Regions from separate parts of the Homo sapiens genome. Here regions 2, 3 and 4 are each linked to region 1. The links are contacts of gene promoters, found by promoter capture Hi-C in human tissues and cell types (Jung and others, 2019). All regions are on one chromosome and are shown on one strand. Each heading gives the region's core, a stretch centred on a gene start or on the middle of the fragment in contact. The rest is flanking DNA. Distances are from core to core; before and after follow the strand shown.

Region 1 (2,941 bases), core at 328-2,827:
AATCCTGGTGAAATTTCACAGAGCTGGCCATTGAGCTTTGACTCCACTGACATGAGGCTGCTGTAAACAGACACCAGGCTCCATGTTTTCAAAAGGCCTAAAAACAGCACAAAATAAAATATAACAACGATTGTTCATGTAAAGGGCCACGTGCCATCTCTGTCCTGAGCAAATGTAACCTGAAACCCTCTCTGTCTGGCACTCCGGGTTGGCGGCACCTCTCTGGACGGTGTATTTGCTCTCCATTACTCAATTTACTTTCCTGAACTTGAAATGGAGTGGAATTTCAATGTAGAGTTACCCATTAGCTCCAGGGCTAAATTTAAACCTTTAATTAAATTAATCCGTTGATCTGAAACACATTGCTTCTCCCTCAAAAGTGCAGCAGGTTTCTTAGGTGTCACAGAGCTTAATTCAGTGTGGCAATTGTTCCTTACTGCATTTGTTAAGTTGCCCATACCGCCTGGGGAAACCCGCACACGTTTTCAGATCCCTCCAGGTGAACTCCTCCACCCTGTCCCCGCCCCCGCCCCCACCCCCAACCAAAACAAGCATTCGTTGTGGGTGGGGACTGCGACTCCTCCCAGATTCAGAGCTACTGCTCTGGGAGGGCCGTCAGGAACCCGTATTTATAGAAGACATGGTAGGTGCCAAACGTGCTTATGAGATAAACGACAGGGTAACTGTCCACATTGGTCCCAGTTTATGAGGGAGAAGAGATCATAATCTACAAAAATTTGCAAGGTGACCAGGGGAAAAGAGTGTAAGGTCATTTTAGCCCACCTGGGTCTTCACAGAAAATGGAGCACATTTCAGAGCCAAAGTAAAAAATTTGCGTTGTCCTTTGCTAAGAGAGAGATGAAAAGTGACAATACCATGGATTGGGGATGCGTGAGTTCGTTGGCCACATGTAAGATGTTCGTGCTTCTGGGCTCTTATGCATCCCAAGGCGTGCATTTATCCCGGGGGCTGCATCCTTGGCCTGGGAATGAATAGACCCAACTGCAATGGTTGTTAGCGATAGCTTTACGGTGGGACAGTCTCCATAGGGGCTGTGGACTTACCCGTGTTATTATGAAAAGGATCTATTTACTTCTCGGGGACCAACGGCCTTGCGGGGTCCAAGTAACTCGCTCGCAGTCCAAAACTCTGCAACGCTCCACATAACCGTCCTGTAGACCCACAACTCTCCCAGGAGCACAGCCCCAGGACCTAACCCACCGGGTTCTGCTCGCTCACCCAATTCCCAGTGCGAGCGCGCGGGGGAAACGTGCTCGCCTCCCGCACCTGGCTTCCGCGGCCCCGGGAGTCGCCAACTCTCCCAGCAGGCAGCTCCGACAACCCGGACAGCCGGGCCGATCCCCCGCCCCACCACCCGCTCGGCTCTCGCGTCCTCCTCTTCCTCCTCCCGTGGCCCCTTGCCTCCCGCCGTCTGCCTCTGCGGCCGCCGCCTGCGGCTTTGTTTTCCTCCCAGGTCGCATTCCCCACACGTGATTCCGTGTTATTGCAAAGAGGGCTTTGGAGCGCGAGCGCGGGGCGCGCGCACCTATAAATACGGACACCCGGCCCCGGAGCCCGCGAGCCAGCGGCCAGGCGACCGGCGGGCGGCCAGCCAGCGAGCCGAACTAGCCGAGCTAGGTAGCGAGGCGTGCGCGTGGGCCGGGGCGGCGGCGCCCCCATCCCCAGCACCGAGGGGCGAGCATGGCCCGCCCGCGGGGGGGCTGGACCGCCGCGCACGCCGCCCGATCCCCGCGCCCTACCCAGCCCGGGTCGCCGCCGCTCGCGCCCGCCGCTTAGCGCTCGGGCGCCGCTCGCTTCTCCGGGCATCGCGGAAATCCCGCCGCAGACGGACACAATGGCGGCGGCGGCGGCGGCCGCCACCACGGCCGCCTGCAGCAGCGGCAGCGCCGGCACCGACGCCGCGGGCGCCAGCGGATTGCAGCAGCCGCCGCCGCAGCCCCAGCCTCAGCCCGCGGCCGCCGCGCCGGCCCAGCCGCCGCCCGAACCCCCCCGGAAGCCGCGCATGGACCCGCGGCGCCGCCAGGCTGCCCTCTCCTTCCTCACCAACATCTCGCTGGACGGCCGGCTGCCGCCGCAGGACGCGGAGTGGGGCGGTGGCGAGGAGGGCGGCGCGGCCAAGCCGGGCGCCGGCGGCGCCTGCGGCGCGAGGACTCGGTTCAGCTTGCTCGCCGCTGCCGAGCGGGGCGGCTGCATCGCGCTCGCCGCGCCGGGCACGCCGGCTGCGGGGTTAGCCGCTGGGTCCGGCCCCTGCCTCCCACAGCCCTCGTCGCTGCCGCCCTTGATTCCTGGCGGCCATGCGACCGTGTCCGGCCCCGGGGTGGCGCGGGGGTTCGCGAGTCCCCTGGGCGCCGGCCGGGCGTCGGGGGAGCAGTGGCAGCCGCCCCGGCCGGCGCCTCTCGCCGCCTGTGCCCAACTGCAGCTGCTCGACGGGTCCGGGGCCGCCGGGCAGGAGGAGTTGGAGGAGGACGATGCCTTTATCAGCGTGCAGGTGCCGGCGGCCGCCTTTTTGGGCTCCGGGACCCCCGGGAGTGGGAGCGGCAGTCGGGGACGCCTCAACTCGTTCACTCAGGGAATCCTGCCCATCGCCTTCTCCAGGCCGACTTCGCAGAACTACTGCTCCCTGGAGCAGCCAGGCCAGGGCGGCAGCACCAGCGCCTTCGAGCAGCTGCAGAGGTCCCGGTGAGTATCCGGGATGCGACGCGCACCCAACCCTGCGTCCCGCCCGGCGCTCCCAGCCTCCCCGCGGTCTCTGGGCTACGGGACACGGGTTGCTCCCATTTTCCCGCGCCCTGCCGGATCCTGTGCTCCGGGCCCGAATCCCAAACCACGAGGGCACCCAAAAGAGGGGGCGTCCCCAGGGAGTGCGGGGTTACACGTGTTTGCACGAGCCCAGCATTCGCAGAGGAGCACCGCGCTTGTG
Region 2 (2,941 bases), core at 186-2,685, 480 kb after region 1:
ATAGTATGTATTTACAGTATATAATTTACTATATATAGTAAATATATGCCATATACTAATATGCCTCCTGGTCAAGGCAGGAGGATTGCTTAAGGCTGGGAGTTTGAGACCAGCTTGGACAATATAGTGAGACCCTATCTCTACAACAAATTTAAAAATTAGATGGGTGCAGTGGTGTGTGGCTGTAGTCCCAGCCGAGGCAGGAGGATTACTTGAGCGCAAGAATTCAAGATTACTGTGAGCTATGATTGCATCACTGTACTCAAGCTTGGGCAACAGAGTGAAACCCTGTCTCTGAAAAAATGTAAATTTATACTATATATATATAGTATATATATATATACACTATATATACAGTATATATATATATATACTATATATACTATATATATAGTGTATAGTAAATACATTCTGTAGTATATATTTCCTATAGTAATATTTATATATTAATAAATATATCTTTACTGTAGTAAATATATTAGTAATTAGTAATATTTATTACTATTTACTATTTAGTAATATTTACTAAAATGTTAGTAAGCATTACTATTAATATAATAAATAATATAATATAATAAAATTAATATAATCAATAATATAATTATATTAGTAAACAGAAATACTAATATTTATTAAGACTTTACAGAAAAAGTTTGCTGACTCCTGATATATAATATAGGTTAGAAATATTTTAATCAAAAATGATCAAAATTTAGGCCAGATAGGGTGGCTCATGCCAGTAATCCCAGCACTTTGGGAGGCTGAGGCAAGTGGATCACTTGAGGTCAGGAGTTCAAGACCAGCCTGGCCAATATGGTGAAACCCCGTCTCTACTAAAAATACAAAAAGCTGGGTGTGGTGGCAGCGTGCCTGTAATCCCACCTACTTGGGAGGCTGAGACAGGAGAATCACTTGAACCTGGGAGGCAGAGGTTGCAGTGAGCCGAGATCGTGCCATTGCACTCCAGTCTGGGCTACAAAGGGAGACTCCATCTCAAAAAAGCAAAACAAAACAAAACAAAAAGATCAAAACTTAAAAAAAGAGTTTTGGCTCTGTTTTTTAGGTGACCCAGGTATCCATACTGACATATTTTCTGAGGCTTCCAGGTGTTTGAGGCTTATTTTATTTCACTTAAGGGAACAAAACAGAGTGGTTCTTTGCTTAAGAAAATGAAGAGAACAGACATAAGTGTCTGTTCTTCTTCCTTGATTTCACAAATCCTCCAAATGGTGTCAAAATGGCATACTTTCCAATTAGCTATTTCATTACTACTGTCGATTTTTTTTTTTCTGCAAAACTAGGTAATGACAGACTGTGGTTCACTCTTTCTACCACCTCCCCACTTCTACCAGAGCCCCTGGGATCTCCAGCATCAAGAAGCTGCAGGTGTGTTCTTTCAAGAATCCAACTAACCAGGCTAACTGCACCCAAATTCGACACAGTCCCCAAGTGAGGACTTACTTTCTAACCTCTCTCTTACAGATTAGTAAAATTTATCTTTAGGTCTTACCTTCAAAATACCAAGAGTGGGTGAGAATTTAAGCAACTCTTTTATGACATCATTATACCCTTTGTTGGCTGCTTTCAATAATGCTGTTGTGCCATCCTTAACAGAAAGAGGAAAATAAAAGTTGATTATTAACATATATCTGTGTTGCTTGAAAGCAGTCAGTTGGGAACTGGAAAGTACCGTTGTCAGAAACTAATGACGTGTAAATTAAGCACAGATCAGCAATGTCTCTTAATCTAGGAGCATTTTAGAGAATATTAAGCAGTAAATTCTGCATGAAAGAGTATCAGATAAACAGTGACTTAGATTATGTTAGAACTCTGCCATTTGGGAATTCATACTTCTACAGTTCCTGAGAACACTGGGCAGGGGACAAGGGGAATTTCAAGAGCATATTTTTAGGCCATGGTTGGACCAAAGAGGCATTCTCGGCTGTTCATAACTTAGCAGAAATGGTTAACTGTCTTTAATAATTTAGATCATTGTTGAGCTGTATTTACTGTTTCTAAAAAAATTTATACAGCCTTGCCCTAGTCTGCTCTAGGCATCCGCCCGTGTGTGGGTAGTGGGGCTTAGGGGCAGAGGTGATAGATTAAAATCTGCTAAAAGGCCAGGTGCAGTGGCTCACGCCTGTAATTCTAGCACTTTGGAAGGCCAAGGCAGGAGGGTCACTTGAAACCCCGTCTCTACCAAAAATACAATAGCCGGGTGTGGTAGCCCGTGCCTGTAGTCCCAGCTACTCGGGAGGCTGAGGCACGAGAATCACTTGAACCCAGAGGCGGAAGTTACAGTGAGCTGAGACCGTGCCACTGCACTCCAGCCTGGGTGACAGAGTGAGACTCTGTCTCAGAAAAAAATAAAATAAAATCTGCTAAAAAGAATGAAAAGCCAAATTCAAAAATTAATATTTAGCTTCTGTCGTTATTTTTTGGCTCAAGAACACAGTTTCCAAATTCCTTTTTCTCCCATTTTCACATATCAGTCGCTGTGTTTGGAGGATTTAGTCCATAATTCTCCCGTAGCCAAGAAACCACTTCGGCCTGCCATTAGGGTTTATCTGTAATCAGAAAGAAGGAAGAATGAATTGGGGGGCGGGGGGTGGGGGTCTTTTCTGGCTTCAGAGATTGTGGGAAGAAGAAGAGTGAGAGAGAGGGCAGTGAAATGGTGGCGAACGCGTCTGGTGATTTCCCTTTTTTGGAGCTTAGACTTGGAGAGGGGAAGGTGGGTTACGTAAGCAAGGGTTATACAAAGGCCACAGTAAAACACAAAAAGCAAACAGCATAGGTGGTCAGGTTCTCTTCAAGCCTTCCTTATGGGGAAAAGGGCCTGCTGTGCAGCACACAAAGGCAGTATTAGGTGGCACCAGCAGAGGCCAGTGGATGACGGCGGGCCAACAGGGGACGGGGTGCAAGGGGTCTGCAGCTCCAGGGA
Region 3 (2,941 bases), core at 242-2,741, 330 kb after region 1:
TTGCAGGAAAAAGCAGTTGATCCTAAGACACGTTTACTTATGTATAAAATGGTCAACTCTGGAATGTTGGAGACAATCACTGGCTGTATTAGTACAGGAAAGGAGTCTGTTGTCTTTCATGCATATGGAGGGAGGTAAATGAGCAAAATATGATACCATGATATGAAAACTTAGTCTCTTCTCCCCAAGATTAATGAATTTACACAGAATCAAAGATAATGCTGCATGGCAAGCAGAGTAATTTTTAAAGTGTTATTGTAGAAAGTCTAGGCAGTATAGGAATGTATAAAAAACACAGTCATCCTAATACCACCACCCAGAGATAATCATTAATAATTTTGGGTAGACTTCTCCAGTTTTTTTCAATGCGTATATTATTATTATTATTATTATTATTTTTTGAGATGGAGTTTCACTCTTGTTCCCCAGGCTGGAGTGCAGTGGCGTGATCTTGGCTCACTGCAATCTCTGCCTCCCGGGTTCAAGCAAGGTCTCCTATCCCAGCCTCCAGAGTAGCTGGGATTACAGGCACATGCCACCACGCCTGGCTAATTTTTGTATTTTTAGTAGAGACAGGGTTTCGCCATGTTGGCTAGGCTGTCCTCAAACTCCTGACCTTAGGTGATCCACTCGCCTTGGCCTCCCAAAGTGCTGGGATTACAGGCGTGAGCCACTGCTTCCGGGCTTCCTCATCTTTATCAGTGTTTAGTATTATCAAATCTAATGCTTTTTGTCAGTGTGAGAGATGAAAAGTAACATCTTGGTATTTTGGTGTGCATTTATTTAATTATGATTAAGTTGTACATTTTTTCCAAGTGCTTTATTGGCCATTTGTATTTCTTTTTCTTGTCTTCTCTCTTGTTTATCCTTTGTCCATTTTCTGTTATACTCAATATACTCCTTTTTTTTTTTTTTTTTTTTTTTTGGGAGATGGAGTTTTGCTCTTGTTGCCCAGGGTGGAGTACAATGGCGCAATCTCAGCTCACTGCAACCTCCATCTCCTGAGTTCAAGCGATTCTCCTGTCTCAGCCTCCCAAGTAGCTGGGATTACAGGCACGCACCACCACGCCTGGCTAATTTGTGTGTTTTTAGTAGAGATGGGCTTTCACCATGTTAGCCAGGCTGGTCTCAAACTCCTGACATCAGGTGATCCACCCATCTTGGCCTCCCAAAGTGCCAAGATTACAGGCGTGAGCCACTGCGCCTGGCCTGGTATACTTAATATACTCTAATATAATAAATGTTCAGTCTTTCTGGTGGAATTGGTATCATAATCTGTACTTTGACATTTCTAAGTTAGCAAAACTAGAGAACATTCAGTTTTCTACAGCTAAAAGTTAATGCTTTTAAAAGTTTGTTAGTTTTCTGTGGTACATAATAAATTGCCACAGACTTAGCAGCCAAAACAGCATCCATTTATTATCTCATAGTTTCTGTTGACAGAATCCAGGCATGGCTTAACTAGGTTCTCTGTTCAGGGTTTCACAAGCCTGCAGTCTAGGTGTTGGCCAGGCTGTGTTCCTTTCTGGAGCTTGGCGTCCTCTTCCCTTGGCCACCTTTCAGTTGCAGCTATACGACTGAGGTCCCACTTTCTTGTTGGCTGTCAGCAGTGGGCTGCTCTCAACTCCTTGAGGCCCCTGCAGTTCCTTGCCATGGGGCCGTCTCACAGGCCTCTTCACACACTAGCTCTCACACTTTCAAAGCCAGCAGGAGAATCTCTCCAGTCTGCTAAGACTGAGACTTAGTGTTATGTTATCATGGGAATGACTAGACCATCACCTTTGCCACATAACCTAACCAGGGAGTGGCTATCCCACACATGCTCAAGGGAAGGAGGTATTATACAGGGGTGTGCACACCAAGGGGGCTGGGAGTTTTGCTTTCCACAAAGCTCTGGTTCCTTTCTTTCTTCCTCTCTCTCTCTCTCTCTCTCTCTCTCTCTCTCCCCCTCTCTCCCCCTCTCTCCCTCCCTCCCTCCCTCCCTCCCCTCCCTCCCCTCTCTCCTCTCTCCCCTCTCTCCTCTCTCTCTCTCTCTCTCCCTCTCCTCTCTCCTCTCTCTCTCTCTCTTTTTCTTTCTTTCTTTCTTTTTCTTTCCTTCTTTCTTTTTTTTTTTGAGATGGAGTCTTGCTCTGTCACCCAGGCTGGAGTGCAATGGCGCAATCTTGGCTCACTGCATCCTCTACCTCCCAAGTTCAAGTGATTCTCCTGCCTCAGCCTCCCCGGTAGCGGGGATTACAGGTACACACTACCATGCCCGGCTAATTTTTGTATTTTTAGTAGAGACGGGGTTTCACCATTTTGGCCAGGCTGGTCTCAAATTCCTGACCTTGTGATCCAACTGCCTCAGCCTCCCAAAGTGCTGGGATTACAGGCGTGGGCCACTGTGCCTGGGTCAAAGCTCTGGTTTCTGTCACTCTCAGGTTGGTCAGGCAATCAACAATTATTCAAACAGTAATTTGTGCTAGATTACTCAGGGAATAAAATATAAGACATATTTTTTACTCTCAAAGAGCTTAAGCTTTAGCTAAAAGGAGAACATTACAGTAAGAACCATTATGGTCAATGAAAGATAATTACATAATAGAGTACCCAGTTATGCAAACGAGACCTTATATGGGATAGGAATAGCGAATAGAACAAGATCATTGCCAGGCACATTCAGGGAAGATATCATAATGAAGTTGGATCTCAATCTGGATTTTAAAAATAGGTTAAAAAAAGAAATCCGTTGGAGGACCGATGGGGGCGGATCACGAGGTCAGGAGATCGAGACGATCCTGGTTAACACGGTGAAACTCCGTCTCTACTAAAAAATACAAAAAAGTTAGCCGGGCATGGTGGCGGGCATCTGTACTCCCAGCTACTTGGGAGGCTGAGGCAGGAGAATGGCGTGAACCTGGGAGCGGAGCTTGCAGTGAGCTGAGATCGCGCCACTGCACTC
Region 4 (2,941 bases), core at 270-2,769, 300 kb before region 1:
CTCACAAAATAACAGTCGATTTACACCCACAATGTGTCCACCACAAAATTCGCTCCCACCAGGAGACTGCCTTGAGAGATAACAATCAATTTACAGCCCAAAGTACCCCTGCTACGAAACTCTCTCCCACCTGGAGAGTTTTCAACCACTCTTACAACCTATTTCTGCCCATGAAAACACCAGCTGCCTGGCAGATAAGGCACTGAAGTGAGTATGTGGACCACTCCCCCACCACCCTGCTCATTTCTGCCCCTTCATAAGCTCCCCTTTAAAAGCACTCACTTTCTGCTCCAAAAGCGAAGCCACACCCTTAAGGCAGGAAGCCTGTACTTCTTCCCCTAAGCTAGTTTCAGAATAAAAAATCACTTTCTTTATACTAGATCTCGCTCTTGTTAATCAGACTCTGAAAGCAGAGATTGACTGAACCTGCATTTCAGTTACAGAAAGGAAACGTAATTGTAGGCAGAGAGGCTCATGAGATGAAACCGTCTGACAGCCAGAACCCTCCTAGAAAACTAAGGTGATTAAATCTTTAAGGCAGTCTTCTCAATCTCTTTAGAACTGTTTTTTTTCAATATACCTCCTTGCTTACACAATTTGAATTACCAATAAAAATAAATTGAGAAGAAAATGCATTAAAATGCTTTATGATACACTGTCAGATCACAGGAAGGTCTTAAGTATGTCACAAAAGATAAATAAGCTTCAAAAAACTATAAATATTCTATATCCCTGTTGAGTACAGCTTGAAAACTCAAGCTTAGTAGTGCTTACCAGCTTACAGACTCCTGCATATCCTGACTGCTGACCTTTAAGCCTATAGTTTCTGTTTTGATCTTAAGATGATATAGCTGTTCATTAGACTCAGGGAACTCCCACAGCCCTGAACAGGGGTCACTAACGTAATCTCTCCTTTCTCTGCCTTATCTCCATTATAAATCCAAGATACCTTTGGAGATGAATAGGTATCAAGTTATCTGACTTACCTTAGCCATACAAGCATCCTAGGAATTTTTCCTGATGATACAATAAGAGTAAACGGGCTCCAAAAATGCAATGAGCATATGCAAAGCTTTGCTCCACCTTTCTTATTTTTTCCACCCAACATTTATCATTACCCCCAAAATGCCAAATGAGGGACAAAAGAGAGATACCAACAGAGGAAATAAACTTGAAGAGACATTAGAAGAATGATTCATTGAGATAACAGAGAAAAAAGCATATACTCCAGGCAGTTTAAGAAAGTTACCTAATAGGGCATAGGTTCAAGATACCCAACGTGAGCCAAGAAAACCCCCTATGTTGCCAAATGTCAAATAGCATCATTATTATCAGTCTCATTGATAAATTATCGGGTTTTTATGTATTGTCTGGGAATTTACATTCTAACACCCCTGAGATGTAAAAAGAGAGAAATAAATATAGGCATGAGGAAACGCAAGGCAAATAGCTACTCAGAAGATAAAAACACTTGTATAATGCAGGTGTCATGAAGCAATCACACTGCACTACAGACCAGGGAGCGTGAATCTACCTCAGACCGACCACTCAATCCAAAATTACTCAATGATATTGGTAGTGTGTGATCATCTGTATGAGCTAAAGCATTGTTATGCCAAGGCACACCTGTCCACAAAATGACACCTCTATATTTCACAGATCCAAAAAGCCACTGTGGAACCAGAGAGAATGGGAATTTGTGGTCTGAATTATCTAACCTGTGCCAGACTTGTTATTCCACTTAACTATGATGTAAACTGTTCAGATGTATTTAGTTTGCCTTATTCTTTAAAATTAAAAATGGAAAGTGTTTATCGAAATGAAGATCCAGAAGTACCTACTGAGCCTATTTCCTCTCAGCTGTTTTCAACTGTAAAACACAAATATGTCTAACATTCTTTAAAATTAAAAATGCAAAGTGTTTATCTAAATGAAGTTCCAGAAGTACCTACTAAGCCTATTTCCTCTCAGCTGTTTTCAACTGTAAAACACAAATATGTCTAACCCACGAAGCCTATAATCATTAGCAGCTGGGTTGCTGTGTGTTGTAGTCATGAAAATGCTCCTCTCAGACCTCCTGTTGGAGACAGCTTAATTGATCCTGTCCCTCTGGATGCAGCACTGCATCTACCCGAAGGCCATACTTCCTAGCCAATGATAGAGCACAGCAGATACTAAGGCAGGCCCATTCTGGCAATATACAGGACTCCTGAGTAACTTCTATTTTAGGACTCACCATCGACCTGGCCAAACTTTCTTAGCACTACATGGCAGTCTGAGACCCATCCTACCCAATCCTGCTACTTTCCTTCTTCTTTGCTACACTGTGGTTCTGAAGTTTCTCTCCACCTCCTCCTGCTCCCTCCTTCAGTAATCTCTTTCATATCTAATCCTAGCTTGAGATTTATTTGGAATGGGTCCAAATCAAAACAGGTGGTACACAGAGTGGTGTGAGAAAACAGGCAGGAAGATGGGGATTTGGGATTGGCTCACTCACCCAACATTAGATTAAGTGGGGGCCATCTTGTGTGGTAGGTAGGGTACAGATAGTCCCTGGCCCAAGGTAGGGGCCCAACTGCTCAAGATTTCACCCACAATGACCTGAGAAAATGTCCCGGTGGAAGGGAACAATCATTCAGTTCCAATCATTCAGGCATTTGAAAAAACAACAGGTGTGCTGGCTCACACCTGTAATCCCAGCACTTTGGGAGGCCGAGGCGGGTGGATCATCTGAGGTCAGGAGTTCTAGACCAGCCTGATCAACACGGTGAAACCCTGTCTGTACTAAAAATACAAAATTGCTGGGTGGGGTGGTGCATGCAGAGCTCCAAAGACGTCTGAATGATCCACCAAGGTAGGTCTACTATGGTAAGGTCAGGGCCCTACTTGGGAAAAACTAGGATCCAGAAAAATGAGATGAGAACATCTAGATGGATGCCTC

Evidence for each region. Contacts are between HindIII fragments. The study calls those that stand out against the background at their distance.
Region 2: a contact is called between a fragment that was not itself captured here and the fragment with the promoter of CABLES1 in region 1, in 2 of the 25 tissues and cell types used here (hippocampus and lymphoblastoid cells).
Region 3: a contact is called between a fragment that was not itself captured here and the fragment with the promoter of CABLES1 in region 1, in 1 of the 25 tissues and cell types used here (aorta).
Region 4: a fragment that was not itself captured here is called in contact with the fragment with the promoter of CABLES1 in region 1 in 4 of the 25 tissues and cell types used here (H1 embryonic stem cells, IMR-90 fibroblasts, bladder and 1 more).

Annotation. Positions count from the first base shown.
Region 1 is chr18:23,133,908-23,136,848 of GRCh38, forward strand. It overlaps CABLES1 (Cdk5 and Abl enzyme substrate 1), which reads left to right and starts at 1,578. Exons shown (of 10, transcript NM_001100619.3): 1 at 1,578-2,700. The coding sequence starts at 1,856. RefSeq lists silencers at 377-466, 477-586, 1,347-1,426, 1,547-1,756, 1,887-2,096 and 2 more and an enhancer at 777-926. The HindIII fragment of the contact is 17,284 bases long and covers 1-2,941 here.
Region 2 is chr18:23,616,222-23,619,162 of GRCh38, forward strand. It overlaps ANKRD29 (ankyrin repeat domain 29), which reads right to left. Exons shown (of 10, transcript NM_173505.4): 8 at 1,511-1,606. Among named protein-coding and RNA genes, the nearest start is that of NPC1, 31 kb to the left of the region's middle. The HindIII fragment of the contact is 7,344 bases long and covers 1-2,941 here.
Region 3 is chr18:23,467,393-23,470,333 of GRCh38, forward strand. RIOK3 (RIO kinase 3) reads left to right here. Exons shown (of 13, transcript NM_003831.5): 7 at 7-134. Among named protein-coding and RNA genes, the nearest start is that of RIOK3, 16 kb to the left of the region's middle. The HindIII fragment of the contact is 5,305 bases long and covers 1-2,941 here.
Region 4 is chr18:22,838,738-22,841,678 of GRCh38, forward strand. All of the region lies in intron 2 of RBBP8-AS1 (RBBP8 antisense RNA 1), which reads right to left. Among named protein-coding and RNA genes, the nearest start is that of RBBP8, 93 kb to the right of the region's middle. The HindIII fragment of the contact is 7,194 bases long and covers 1-2,941 here.